Linked DNA regions of Homo sapiens: region 1 is linked to region 2. Evidence: promoter capture Hi-C in 16 types of primary human blood cells and fetal thymus (Javierre and others, 2016). All regions are on one chromosome and are shown on one strand. Each heading gives the region's core, a stretch centred on a gene start or on the middle of the fragment in contact. The rest is flanking DNA. Distances are from core to core; before and after follow the strand shown. Region 1 holds the start of SRBD1 (S1 RNA binding domain 1). Region 2 holds the start of MSH6 (mutS homolog 6).

Region 1 (6,645 bases), core at 1,975-4,474, 2.2 Mb after region 2:
TTTCCTCTTTGTTCTATCTGGGCCTCAGCCAATTGGATAGTGTCCACCGAAATTGGGTGAGGGCAGATCTTCCTTACTTAGTCTACTGATTCAAATGTCAGTCTCTTCTGGAAATACTCTCACAGACACACACAGAAGTAATGTTTTATCAGCTGTCTGAGCATCCCTTAATCCAGTCAAGATGACACCCAAAATTAACCATCACACTGATTGACTCTCAGAGATAAAATGTTTGAATTTTCATAAGTACACTTGATTTTTAAAATGGCAACCCACCTTCTGTGTCAAGAGCTTTAACTTACTTTTCTCATAAGAGAAATTTGTTTGTACTCTAGACATATTATTGGGTCCAGGAGTTAGTGTACTATTTTTAATGAGTACCTATTATATGTCAAGCATTATTAGGCACTGTGTGGGTGGCGGGAGAAGGTGGAGAGGGGAGGAAAATTTGTTTTTACTTTAGACATGTTTTTGGGTCCAGGAGTTAGTCTACTATATTATTGAGTACCTATTATATGTTAAGCATTATTAGGCACTGTGTAGGTGGAGGGAGAAGTTGGAGAGGGGGAGATAAAAAATTACCAAGAGTTAGTTCCTAGATCCAAATATCTATTAGTAGGTGAAACAGTTGCATCTATTAATATATTAAGAATTTTTGTTCTTATGAAACTTAGTTTGAGGCCAATAGAGAGAATAGCTTTGTTATGTTTCAGGTGGTTAGACAGTACTTTATTTAGAGTATTTAGAGATTCGACAGTTCTGGAGCACCTTAAACATTGAGAGTCTCACTGGCCACCATAGTGGAGCGAGAAAAGGTCTTTGCTTTGAGTTTGTGGTACAGCTGGCCATCTGTATCTGCATTCATGGATATGGAACCTGCAGATGTGGTGGGCCAACTTTTTCTATCACTGATTGGTTGAGTATCTGTAAATTTTGCTATCTGTGGGGGGTCCTCAGACCAATCCCCTGTGGATAGACAGCAAATTGTATGTGGATACCTTTCAGAGTACTTGCTTTGGAGTAAAGCAGATTATTGGATTTGAATCTCAGATCTACAATTTATTAGCTGATGTGACCTTAGATGAATTATTTAACTTCTTTATACCTGGTATTCTCATTTATAAAAATGGTTTAATAGCAATATTGCATTGGGGTAATATGTGAATTATATACATAAATACATCTAAAAGCATTAACTTAGTGCCTGGCACAGGTAAGTAATCAATAAAGGTAAGTTATTACTATTATTATTACATTTGCCCTGGGGAGCTAGAACCCATAGGGGAAGGACTTGAAAACAGATAATAACATACAAATGATAATGTATCAGTGAATATCATGGGAAGAGCTATATACTTTGGAGGGATAAAACAACCTCCATCAAATCCAAAACATGTTTTCATTACTCCCAAACCCTATTGCATAGTCTCAGGTGGGTGTCCGGATTATTCCAGGCTTTCAGTCTAAACCCATGAATTTCTTGGAATTCAGCACTTGAGATCCAAAAGTAAACAATAGATTGGGCAATGTCCTAGACAGAAAAGGCAGTTTTTGTGGGAGGGCCTGTTTTATACTTAAGTGATTACAAATTTTCCTTGACAGCGTGTAGTGGGAGTGACTCTCTTATAGAATTCCAAGGGAAATATTCTCTGGACAGTCCTTATTGGCCTTTAGAGTAGGCCACTACCTACATACTTTAATTTTAGAGAACCTGCTTCAGATTTTATTTTCCCCAGATGTCTGATGTCTAAAATCTTAACAGGCTATTTATTTTTGTGATTTTTTTTTTCTTCCCCAGCTGTAAGGCAAAAATCCCTTGTGGGGAGAGGAAAGTCAAGCTTCAATGCTTTGCTGGCCCACTCTTACTCTCCTCCTCACTGTAGTGTGGCTACTACCTGCATACCCAACCCTTGAAGCTAGACTGTTTTGCTTGGGTGTCTGTTTCCTCTGGCTGTATCTGGTTCCTACTCTTGGTCGTAAATTCCTCCAGGGCAGGACTTATGTCAAAAGACTTTGCAGTATATTAGTTCACCTTTACCCTTACTACCTCTGCAATGATTGGAATGTCCCCTTCAAAAATTCAAGTTGAAACTTGTCATTGTAATAGTATGAAGAGGTGGGACCTTTAGGAAATGATTAGGTCATGAATGAGTTAATTCCATTATCACAGGAGGGTTAGTTATTTCGGGAGTCAATTGGGTTCACATGCCTCCCCCACCCCTACCCCAGTATGATGCCCTCCATCATATTTTGACACAACAATAATGCCCTCTGTCTTGGACTTCCCAGCCTTCAGAACTACAAGCCAAACAAATCTCTTTCTTTATAAATCTACCAGTCTATGGTATTTGGTTACAGCAGCAGAAAATTGACCAAGACAACCCCTTACCATAAACCTGAGTAGCAAATGCAACATCAAAAGTAGGTGAATAGTAAGTAGTACATTATTGTTGTTGATTTCTATGATCTGGTTTCTCTTCCCACAATCCTGAACGGTAAGGTGTTCTCTAGTATTTCTTCAGGACCATAAATTGTGAAGGAGACTGTGATTGTAGTAGACAATTCTAGGCCTTCTGGAACCATCACTAAAGGCAACATACGACTGTGCTAATTAAAAGGAAAAAAAAATCCCTAAACAATCTCGGAAACTGATCTTTCCTGGCCAACAATCTCAGATATAGAAGATTAGATTTACTAAATTTAGAAAGAATCCTTTTTTTTTTCCCCCAATCACAAAAATTATCCAGTAAAATCTATGCTCACTTCCGGTAGATCTGCAACAAGGCACGGTCACAGGTCATTTCAATAACTTGCTAGGCTCTTCAGTACTCAGAGTCCCTGGAAATAAGTCATTAGCAGTGGAAAGCTGCTTTTTAGAATTTTCTAAAACAAATCCATGGGGTTTTGATCTGCTAAATTCGAATGTAGACAACAGCAGCCTTATTTCCCTACTTTTATAATCTAATTTATTTGGCTGTATCTGTGGGCTTAAGAGTTTAGTGTTCTTGGTAAATAACACGTAAAAAAAAAGTCATTTTTCATTTCTACGAACCAGCCCCACCCCGGCGCTCCCTCGGGATCCTCGCTCTAGCCCCGCCTCCGTCCAGCCTGGCTCCGCCCCGTTCGGTAGCGCCGCGCCTTGGAGGTCTGTGGCTAACTTGGTCCGGAAGAAGCGAGGCGGACCTTCTGGCGTTTGAAAAACTTCCGGCGGGAACCGGAAGGTGCGGTGGCACTCACGGAATCTCGGGTCTTCTGACGTGCCGGGCGGGAAGGTGAGCTGTGCGTGCGCCTTGGCGGTCGTCTTGCGGGTTCTCAAGAGCCCGGCGTCCGGGCTCCGGGATCTTTGGGGCCATTAAAAAAGTTCTGAGCGCTCATTTGGGCAATAACACCCCTTTTTTAAAAGTGAGAAGTTCATTACATTTTACTGTCAGCGGTCTCTCACAACCGACCACCCGAAAACCCCTCCTAGCTACCTCGTGACACCTCTTTTCAGCCAAATTGCTGCAGCTCTTAGCGCATAACAGACATAGAAAAGCCTGGGCAAGCCTGTTTTTTTTTTTTTTGAGACGGAGTCTCCCTCTGTCGCCCAGGCTGGAGTGTAGTGGAGCGATCTCGGCTCACTGCAAGCTCCGCCTCCCGGATTCACGCCATTCGCCTGCCTCAGCCTCCCGAGTAGCTGGGGCTACAGGCGCCCGTCATCACACCCGGCTAATTTACCTGGATTGTTTTTATACCTAAAATTATCGGAGGTGGGAGAGGAAGCACCCTTTTCACGGTCATGGTGGCCCTGTCTGAATCAACTGCACCTTCTGTAGTGCGCCTGGCATGTAGGAGGCGCTCAGTAACCGGAGGAAAGGAATGAATTGGGAACTCTCTAGGCAACTTTCCTCGAACCCCTCACGTGACATGTCATTAACATATTGTGTGTGGAATGGGAAACGAGACTAGTCTTGGTGTTCCAGGCACTGGGCTATAGTCCTTTGCCACATATCTTTCCCCTTTGAGTAAACTGTTTCACCTCATTGGGTCTCAGATTTCTGAATATAGCGGGACTGTCTGATCTCAGGTTCTTTCAGCTCTAGTATTTTGTTTTTGTGACTTGGGAATCTGCTAACATTCAAGCACTCTGTTGGTCCTTCATGGAAACTTGTTTAGGTGCTTCTTAAGAAATTGTCCTCCTTTGTTTGCCTTCTTGAATTTAAATTTTTTTTTCCAATTTTAATTTAGTATTTGTTAGTGTGCACGTCCTTTTGCCCCTTTGTCCTGATTTGCAGTCGTCCTAGTTTAGTGGCTCTTCCCTTAGTAACATCATAGCAACCTCCAAATTATTGGTTTGGAATATGCTCATGTGCCTACAGTGATTAAGATAGTTTGAAAGGAGGGAAAAATCCCAAGTCACTGAAGAATAGGAATATTCTTATGTGCCATCACTTCTTCAGAAAGAGATGAATGCAATGTGTGGCATTGCCTAAGAGTGGTGGAAAATAAATGTATATTCCTCTGTAGAGACCATATTTGTACATATTATGTTCATTTAATAGTTGTAGGGCATCTGTTAAGTGCTAGGTTCTATGATATGGAAGTGAATAAGGCACATGCATTTCCTTCTTTCATGGTATTTACTCTCTTGACAGCAGTGCAAGCAATAAACAAGTAAAATAAAAATAATTACAGATTGTGTTATAACCTACTGTATACAGGAAGTAAATAGGCTCCTTTTAAAATATAATTGAGAAACCTATTTTAGGCCTGAAATGTTAAGATCTAAGGGATGCAAGGAGCCAGCCAATTGACAAGCAGGGGGAAGAATACTCCAGGCAGAGAGTACCTGAGGTGGGAAAGAATGTTATGACAAGAGCTGAGGAGCTCCAGCAAGTAGTAAAGGTGGTTAGAAAGGTGAGCAGGGCTCAGTCCGACAGGGCCTTTTCAAAGGCCTCATAAAAATGTGGCTTGATTCTAAGTGAAGGATGGGGTGGGAAGTAATTCGTTGTTTCTAAAGCATATTCTAAATGATCTTGAGTTGATAAGTGGAGAATGAGTTGCAGGGGCAAGAGTGGAAGTAGGGAGGGCAGTTAAGAGGCGAGTGTGGTAGTTCAAGTGAGGGAGGTTGAGGACTAAAGGCTCACTGAAGATCGTGGAGATTCAAGACATTTTGGAGGAGGATCTTATGTGACTTACTAATAGTCTGGATATGTGAGATGAAAGAAAAAAAGATTTGTAACATTTTGACTTAGCAAATGGAACTTTGGAGGATGATAATGTGTTCATTTTCTTGATTGTAGTGATATGTATACATATGTCAAAACATCAAATTTGCACACTTTAAACATGTGCAGTGTATTGCATGTCAATTATATGTCAATGAAGCTGTTAAAGAATTTTCTGGCCAGGCGCCATGGCTCACACTTGTAATCCCAGCACTTTGGGAGGCCGAGGCAGGCAGATCACCTGAGGCCAGGAGTTCGAGACCAGCCTGGCCAACGTGACGAACCCCGTCTCTATCAAAAATAGAAAAATTAGCTGGGTGTGGTGGTACACGCCTGTAATCCCAGTTACTTAGGAGGCTAAGGCAGGAGAATTGCTTGAACCTGGGAGGCAGAGTTTGCAGTGAGCTGAGATCACTCCAGGCTGGGTGACAGAGTGAGACCGTCTCAAAAAAAAAAAAAAATTTTTTTTTTCAAGGTTCTGGCTTAGCAAATAGGTGGGTGCCACTTATTGAGATGGGAAGGACTGGAATAGGAACAGGTTTTAGAGCAAGAAATGGTCATCAAGAGTTCCATTGTGGATGTGTTAAGTTAACTGTGAGACATCTAAATAGTTTCAGAGACAGGCAGTTTATTATAGAAATCTGAATGTTAAAGGCACGGTTTGGGATGGAGGGATTAGGATTGTTAATAAGTAGGTGACATCGGTATGTAAAACCGTGGAGATGGATGAGGTTTTGGTTAATCTAACAAGTTTTATGACACAAAGTAAGAGGATATGGGAGTAGTGGAGATGGAGAAACAGGCCTCAAGAATATTGGTGTTTAAACTGGAGAATACATACTCCTGGGGGTGTACCTGTCGTAGGTAGTTTTAAAGACATAATTTCCAAGTCTTCAGCTTTTGTATATATTCTTTCTAAATCTGATCTGCTTGAAATTGGCTTGTGTGTTCATGCAGATTCTGCTTTCCCACCTTTCCTTTTACATTGATATTTTTAACATTTGTGAAAAGAAATATTACAACTCACTCATCTTTCCATGGTATATTGCTTTCGGGGTGCCTTATAAAGAGGCAGTTGGAAATATTTGATTTAGGGGAGCCTTCTTTAAGGATAATGGTTAAGCAAAAACATAAGCCTGCCAAGGGTTTGCCTGTCCCTATTTTAAACACATTTCTGTTAAGGCTGAAGTGTGGAGATAGAATTAGTATATGGTAGTCTGTGTGGGAATGTTCTGAATTCAGGCATATTGTAGAATGTGGTGGTAGGAGTGATTGTAAGGTGATCTGGGTGGGTTGTTTGATGGGAAGCTTAGCACCTTCAAGTTTTTACTCTTGGACTGGTTAGATTCTCCAGAGAAAAGCCTTCCCATTCTCCTCCCTAGAGGGCAGTATTTTAGGAATTTAGTGGCGGAAGACTAGGGTTCTCTGCCTTTAGCAT
Region 2 (6,255 bases), core at 320-2,819:
AGGCGGGTGGATCACCTGAGGTCGGGAATTCCGAGACTAGCCTGACCAACATGGAGAAACCCCGTCTCTACTAAAAATACAAAATTGGCGGGGTGTGGGGGCGCATTCCTGTAATCCCGACTACTCGGGAGGCTGAAGCTGGGGAATCGCTTGAAGCCGGGACGCGGAGATTGCGGTGAGCTGAGATCGCGCCATTGCACTCCAGCCTGGACTTGAGCGAAACTCTCTCTCAAAAAGGAAAAAAAAAAAAAAGCACTTAACTGCCCATAAAGTGAGGACAACTCCCGACAGGCTTCCCCGGAGTCACTCACGTCCACACATCTTTGTCCAGCGCCCGATTAAGGCCTCTAAAAGCCCAGTGGTGCCCCATAAAAATTACACTATTTCATAAAATAAAATATTTTCCACTCGACACGAATTTCCACATACGTCAAAATATTCTATCTTCGTCTCGGTGCACGTGCAGCCTACCTACCGAAGGACCCAGCCGGATCCCAGCACTTCGGCTCCCCACGGCCCCGCCCCGCCCAATTAGGCCCCGCGGTCCCCATGGTGACACACCCCCCCGCGCTCGCAGCTCGTGGCCCACCCCCTCGGCGGCCCCTCACCTAGGCCGAAGGCCCACCGTCCCCAAGGCGTCTCGGCGACCGCGGCTCTTAACTACCTCTAAGTGTCTACCTCGATCGACTACTGGAGCCCCAACTCACTATCTCCGCGCCGGCCGAGGAACCTCCTTTCGCACCCCACACCACCGGACTCTCCCCGTTCGGCCTCCCGCAGGCATTCCTCCTTCCCGCCACCCCGCCCCCCGCCCCGCCCACCAAGTGGGCCGGGCGCCTTCCCCTTCTCGCCCCACCCCCAGTGCTCCCACCTCCCAGGCCCCCTCCCCACCCGGAGCTGCGCGCGTCGCCCCTTCCTTAGCCCAGCACCCCCACCTGGCGGGACGCGTCTCCTCCCTCCAAAAGGCCCGAACTCTCCGCGTCTCCCCTGCAGCCCTCTTCCTGCACAGCCTCTCTCCTCCGACCCTGTTTACAAGCTACACCCCCAAATGCTCCAGACTCGACCCCTGCACTCATTCAAGCCAACTCTGCGGCCCCGCCTCCTCCGAGCCCAGGGCCAGGCCGTGCACCCCCCCAACCCCCTGTGCGAGCCTCCCCTCGCCGGGTTCCAAGCGCCCCGCCGCTATGCCCCCGCCTTCGACCCCACCCCCACCCCGCTACCTGGTGGGGGCAGCAGGCGCTACCGATCTCCGCAGCCCTCCGTTGAGGTTCTTCGCCTTGGGCGGTGACGCGGAGCGCGCCAAGGGCCTGGGCCCAGGCCCAGCCTCGCTCCAGGCCGCATCCCCGCCTGGGGAAGGAGAGGCCCCGGGGGCAGCGGCGGCACGGCCGCCTTCGCGTGAGGCCCTGGCCGAGGCCTTGTTGGCATCACTCAGCGCCGGAGACTTGGGGAAGAAGCTGTACAGGGTGCTCTGTCGCGACATACCGACAGCCGGCAAGGCCCAACCGTTCTGTCGGACGGAGCTCCTAAAAGCACCGCATCTACCGCGCGGCTCCTGCTGGCGGGAAATCTGGGGGGAGGCGCGCTCCGCCGGAGGAACCCGGGCCCCAGTGGCCAATCAACAGGCGCCTCGCCGTGCGCGGGCGGTGCGCGCCAGGCCCCGCCCCCGGGCGCGCGGCGACGTGGGGAAGGGCGGGGCTGGCACACTGGTGGGTAGGGGCGGGGCTGGCACGCTGGCGGTGAGGGGCCCGCCCTGCCGCCGACGCCTGGGCCCCGCGCGGGGAACTGCTGAGCTCCCCTTCCCTCACGCCGCGGGGCTGGCCGGGCCGGAACACTCCGACCCGGGGTTAGTTGCGGCCGCGGGGCTAGCAGGCTCGGAAAGCCCTGCCTCTCTGGAGCGGAAGCGGGAACAGCGGGGGCGCGCACCGCCCGGGCGGGGATAACCGGGGGGACCCGAAAGGCCTCGGAAAGGGGCTCGCGGGGAGAAACGCGTCCAGCGCTCGCGTGACCTCCTGCCGTTAGAGCATTTTCGCAAGGAGACGGAGCGAAAGGGACCAAACTTTAGTCAGCAGTTCACCTTCACGTTGTATTCTCAAGATTTGTATAGAGTAGGCACTTGGTAAACGCTAAATGAATATTGTAATAGCATTCGTTAGCGATGCTGTTGTGTATGGTGAAAGCCTGCAGCTGTACAAAGTTTTCCTTTGCCAGGCACTGATCCCAGCATTTTACATCTGGTAACTAAATCGATCCTCTCAATAACCTGTGACGTAAGTACTTAAGGGCCACAGTCCGTTATCTGAGCCCTTTGACCCAGGTGTGTCTTTACAGGATTTTTCAAATTTTAGAAAGCTAAGAGACTATGAGAGGCCGGGCGCAGTGGCTCACGCCTGTAATCCCAGCACTTTGGGATGCCGAGGCGGGCGGATCACCTGAGGTCAGGCGTTGAAGACCAGCCTAGTCAACATGGTGAAACCCCCGTCTCTACTAAAAATCCAAAAATTAGCCGGGCGTGGTGGCATGCGCCTGTAATCCCAGCTACTTGGGAGGCTGAGGCAGGAGAATAACTTGAACCTGGGAGGCAGCGTTTGCAGTGAGCCAAGGTCGCGCCACTGCACTCCAGCCTGGGCGACAAGAGCGAAACTCCGTCTCAAAAAAAAAAGAAAGAAAGCTAAGAGGCTATGAGAATAAAAAGGTTCTATTCAAATTCAAGAAAGATAGTGGAAGACAGACAATTGTTTGTCCCCTTATCCAGATTGTGAAATCCAGATTGCCGGAAACCAGTCACAATCAACAGCTGTACATTGGTAAAAACCTATGTAAAATTAGTTGTTTGCCTTGTTCTTGGAGACTGTTCTGCCAGAAGGTTCTCCTTTGCTAGGCAAGTAATAAAATCAATCTAAAAAAAAAAGGCGGGGGCCGGGCGCAGTGGCTCACGCCTGTAGTCCCAGCACTCGGCACTTCGGGGGGGGGGCGGAGGTGGGCGGATCACGAGGTCAGGAGATCGAGACCATCCTGGCTAACACAGTGAAACCCCGCCTCTACTAAAAATACAAAAAATTAGCCTGGCGTGGTAGCACACGCCTGTAGTCCCAGCTACTGGGGAGGCTGAGGTAGGAGAATGGTGTGAACCCGGGAGGCGGAGCTTGCAGTGAGCCGAGATCGCGCCTCTGCACTCCAGCCTGGGCGACAGAGCAAGACTCCCTCTCAAAAAAAAAAAAAGAATATTGCCAAAGGTGGTATGTGCTAAGAAAAATACAGTATGCTTCACGAATTTGCATTTCATCCCTGTGCAGGGGTCATTCCAATTTTGGTATATGTGCTACCCAAGCAAGCACAGTGAAACCAACTGTTTGAGATAATATTTGAGAGTTGGTCTCTTTCCCCCACCGGCATACGTAAACACCCCCAGAGAGTCTGGGGGAACATGCTGAAATCAAACATGCAGTAAAACTTACATGCTTATTCATACTAAGTAGAAAGAATACAGAATATAGACTATAAATAGCCTCAGGTCAAAATTTGCTACCAAATGAGTTTACCCCCAAACTTTTGGTTTACAGAGCTTTTTGGATTTCAGAATTGCACGTAAGAGGCTGGTTATCCTGTATCTCCATATCATGGATGAAGCTGAGGCACAGTTGGGTCAAGTAACTTGCCCATGACTGCATAGCTAGGAAGTGGTGGAGCCTGGATTTAAACTCAAGGAAGCTGGTTCTGGAGCCCTATGTTGTTAACAGAAATACTATAATACTTCCAATTTAACACCATTTTATCTCATTTAGTTATTACAACCACCTTATACTAGGTTGAACTATGTGAAATTGCCAAAATTTGCCCTTTTTAAAATTTTTTTGAGACAGGGTCTGGCTCTGTCACAGAGGCTGGAGTATAGTGGCGTGATCTTGGCTTACTGTAGCCTCAACCTCCCAGGCTTAAGTAATCCTCTCACCTCAGCCTCCTGAGTACCTGGGACCACAGGCCCGCAACACCATGCCCAGCTAATTTTTTTTTTTTTTAATTGAGGAGTCTTATTCTGTCACCCAGGCTGGAGTACAGTGACGCCATCTTGGTTCACTGCAACCCCTGCTTTGCGGGTTCAGGCAATTCTCATGCCTCAGCCTCCTGAGTGCTAGGATTACTGGTGCCTACCACCATGCCCAGCTAATTTTTGTTTTTTAGTAGAGACACGGTTTCACCATGTTGGCCTGCCTGATCCCAAACTCCTGACCACAAGTGACCCGCCTGCCTCAGCCTCCCAAAGTGCTGGGATTACAGGTATGAGCCACTGTGCCCGGTGCCCTGCTAGTATTTTAAAAATTTTCTGTAGAGACGAAGTTTCACTATGTTGCCCAAGCTGGACCTTTTTGGTTTTTTGGTTGTTTTGTTTTGAGACAGGGTCTTACTCTGTCTCCCAGACTGGTGTGCAGTAGTGCAGTCTCAGCTCACCACAACTTTCACCTCCCAAGCTCAAGCAATTCTCCTTCCTCAGCCTCCTGAATAGCTGGGATTACCGGCACGCGCTACTACTGCCCAGCTAATTTTTGTATTTTTAGTAGAGACAGGATTTCACCATGTTGGCCAGGCTGGTCTCAAACTCCTGACCTCAAATGATCCTCCTGCCTCGGCCTCCCAAAATGTTGGGATTACAGGCGGGAGCCACTGCGCCCAGCCAAGCTGGACCGTTTTTGAAGTACAAATATTAATATTTAATTCATTTTGGTTCAACTGAATATAACGTTATTCTCTTTTTGTTGTTGTTGTTTGTTTTTTTGGGGATGGAGTCTTGCTCTGTCACCGAGGCTGGAGTGCAATGGCACGATCTTGGCTCACCACAACCTCCGCCTCCCAGGTTAAGGCAATTCTCCTGCCTCAGTCTCCTGAGTAGCTGGGGTTACAGGCACCAACACACCCAGCTAAGTTTTGTATTTTTAGTAGAGATGGGGTTTCACCATGTTGGCCAGGCTGGTCTCAAACTCCTGACCTCGTGATCCGCCCATCTCTGCCTCCCAAAGTGCTGGGATTATAGATGTGAGCCACTGCGCCCGGCCGATGTTATTCTTTTACAGGGAGGAAATGGAGGTTCAGAGGGGATGCGCCAGTTGTAAGAGGTTAAGAGCCTGGGCTTTGGGTTAAATGGAGAACTGAGCTCTGATCCTAGCTAGCCAAGCAGATAACTCGGAGCAATTAATACTTTTCTGAACTTGTTTCCTCGTCTTTGATAAGGACAGTAGTACCTATGGGCCAAATTTTGGAGGCTACAGTTAGATGCCTCCCACAAACTTCATTAAAAGACAAGAGAACACATGTATTATGTGGGGACACTCAGACCCCCAGAATTGGCATGAATGTTACTTGGAACTGAAGACATTTGAGAGCCAACAGATGCAGAAAGATGCCGTTTCAAAGCTTCCCTTATGCGACTAACAGCAGAAATTTCTGGGAGTGAAGCTGCCGTAAATCTCCTCTCTAGGGGAGTTTTAGTGGCCAGAAAAAAAGACAAAGACCACTTGCACCTGCAAAAACAAACATTCTTATCTCCCTTTTGTTCCCCCAGAAACCTATTTGTTCTTCCCATGGAAGGCTTTTTCTCCCTCCTCTTCCCCTATTAAATGGTATATATAAAGTAGATTTCGAGATTCAAGAAAAAAAAAGTTGTATAAATGCCAAATAACAGCCTCCTGGACTCACTTTTTTTTTCTGTGAACTCCTGCATGCATATCTGAATAAAAGTCTGTCTTTTTTTTTTTTTTTTTCTGAGACAGGGTCTCACTCTGTTGCCCAGGCTGATCCTCCAGCCTCAGCCTCCCAAGCAGCTAAGACTGCAGGTGTGCGTCCTCACACCCTGATAATTTTATTTTCTGTAGAGACTGGGTCTTGCTATGTTGCCCAGGCCGGTCTCCAACTCTTGGGCTCAAGCCCTTCTCTCTACTTGGCCTCCCAAAGTGCTAGGATTACAGGCCTGAGCCACCGTGCCCGGCCCTAAACTGTCTTTAGTCTGCAGTGCCCAACCAACACATACATTCCATGACTATATATGGGTTATTTTGAAAACTGAATAAAAATATTTTTCTTTTATATGTATTTTTTTTTCAAATGGCTACACTTAGTAAATTGCATAACAATCAATGGAGTTGTTTTGGCCTAGGAGATGTGGCAGGAAAGTACTAAGGTAGTAAATATACTAGGTGTTTGGGAACCTCTGGCCTACTGGTTAAGAGCTCTGTATTCAAAGTTTGTGTTCACATCCCAGCTGAG

What was found. The method cuts DNA at HindIII sites, captures the fragments that hold promoters and counts their contacts. A CHiCAGO score of 5 or more calls a contact.
Region 1: a contact is called between the fragment with the promoter of SRBD1 here and the fragment with the promoter of MSH6 in region 2, in 2 of 17 cell types (non-activated CD4 T cells and total CD8 T cells). The highest score is 9.9, in non-activated CD4 T cells.

Annotation. Positions count from the first base shown.
Region 1 is chr2:45,607,846-45,614,490 of GRCh38, reverse strand. It overlaps SRBD1 (S1 RNA binding domain 1), which reads left to right and starts at 3,224. Exons shown (of 21, transcript NM_018079.5): 1 at 3,224-3,272. RefSeq lists an enhancer at 3,404-3,573. The HindIII fragment of the contact is 4,677 bases long and covers 1,841-6,517 here.
Region 2 is chr2:47,778,459-47,784,713 of GRCh38, reverse strand. It overlaps MSH6 (mutS homolog 6), which reads right to left and starts at 1,569. Exons shown (of 10, transcript NM_000179.3): 1 at 1,221-1,569. The coding sequence starts at 1,480. RefSeq lists silencers at 787-876, 1,077-1,236, 1,517-1,996, 3,147-3,328 and an enhancer at 2,127-2,196. The HindIII fragment of the contact is 5,497 bases long and covers 1-5,408 here.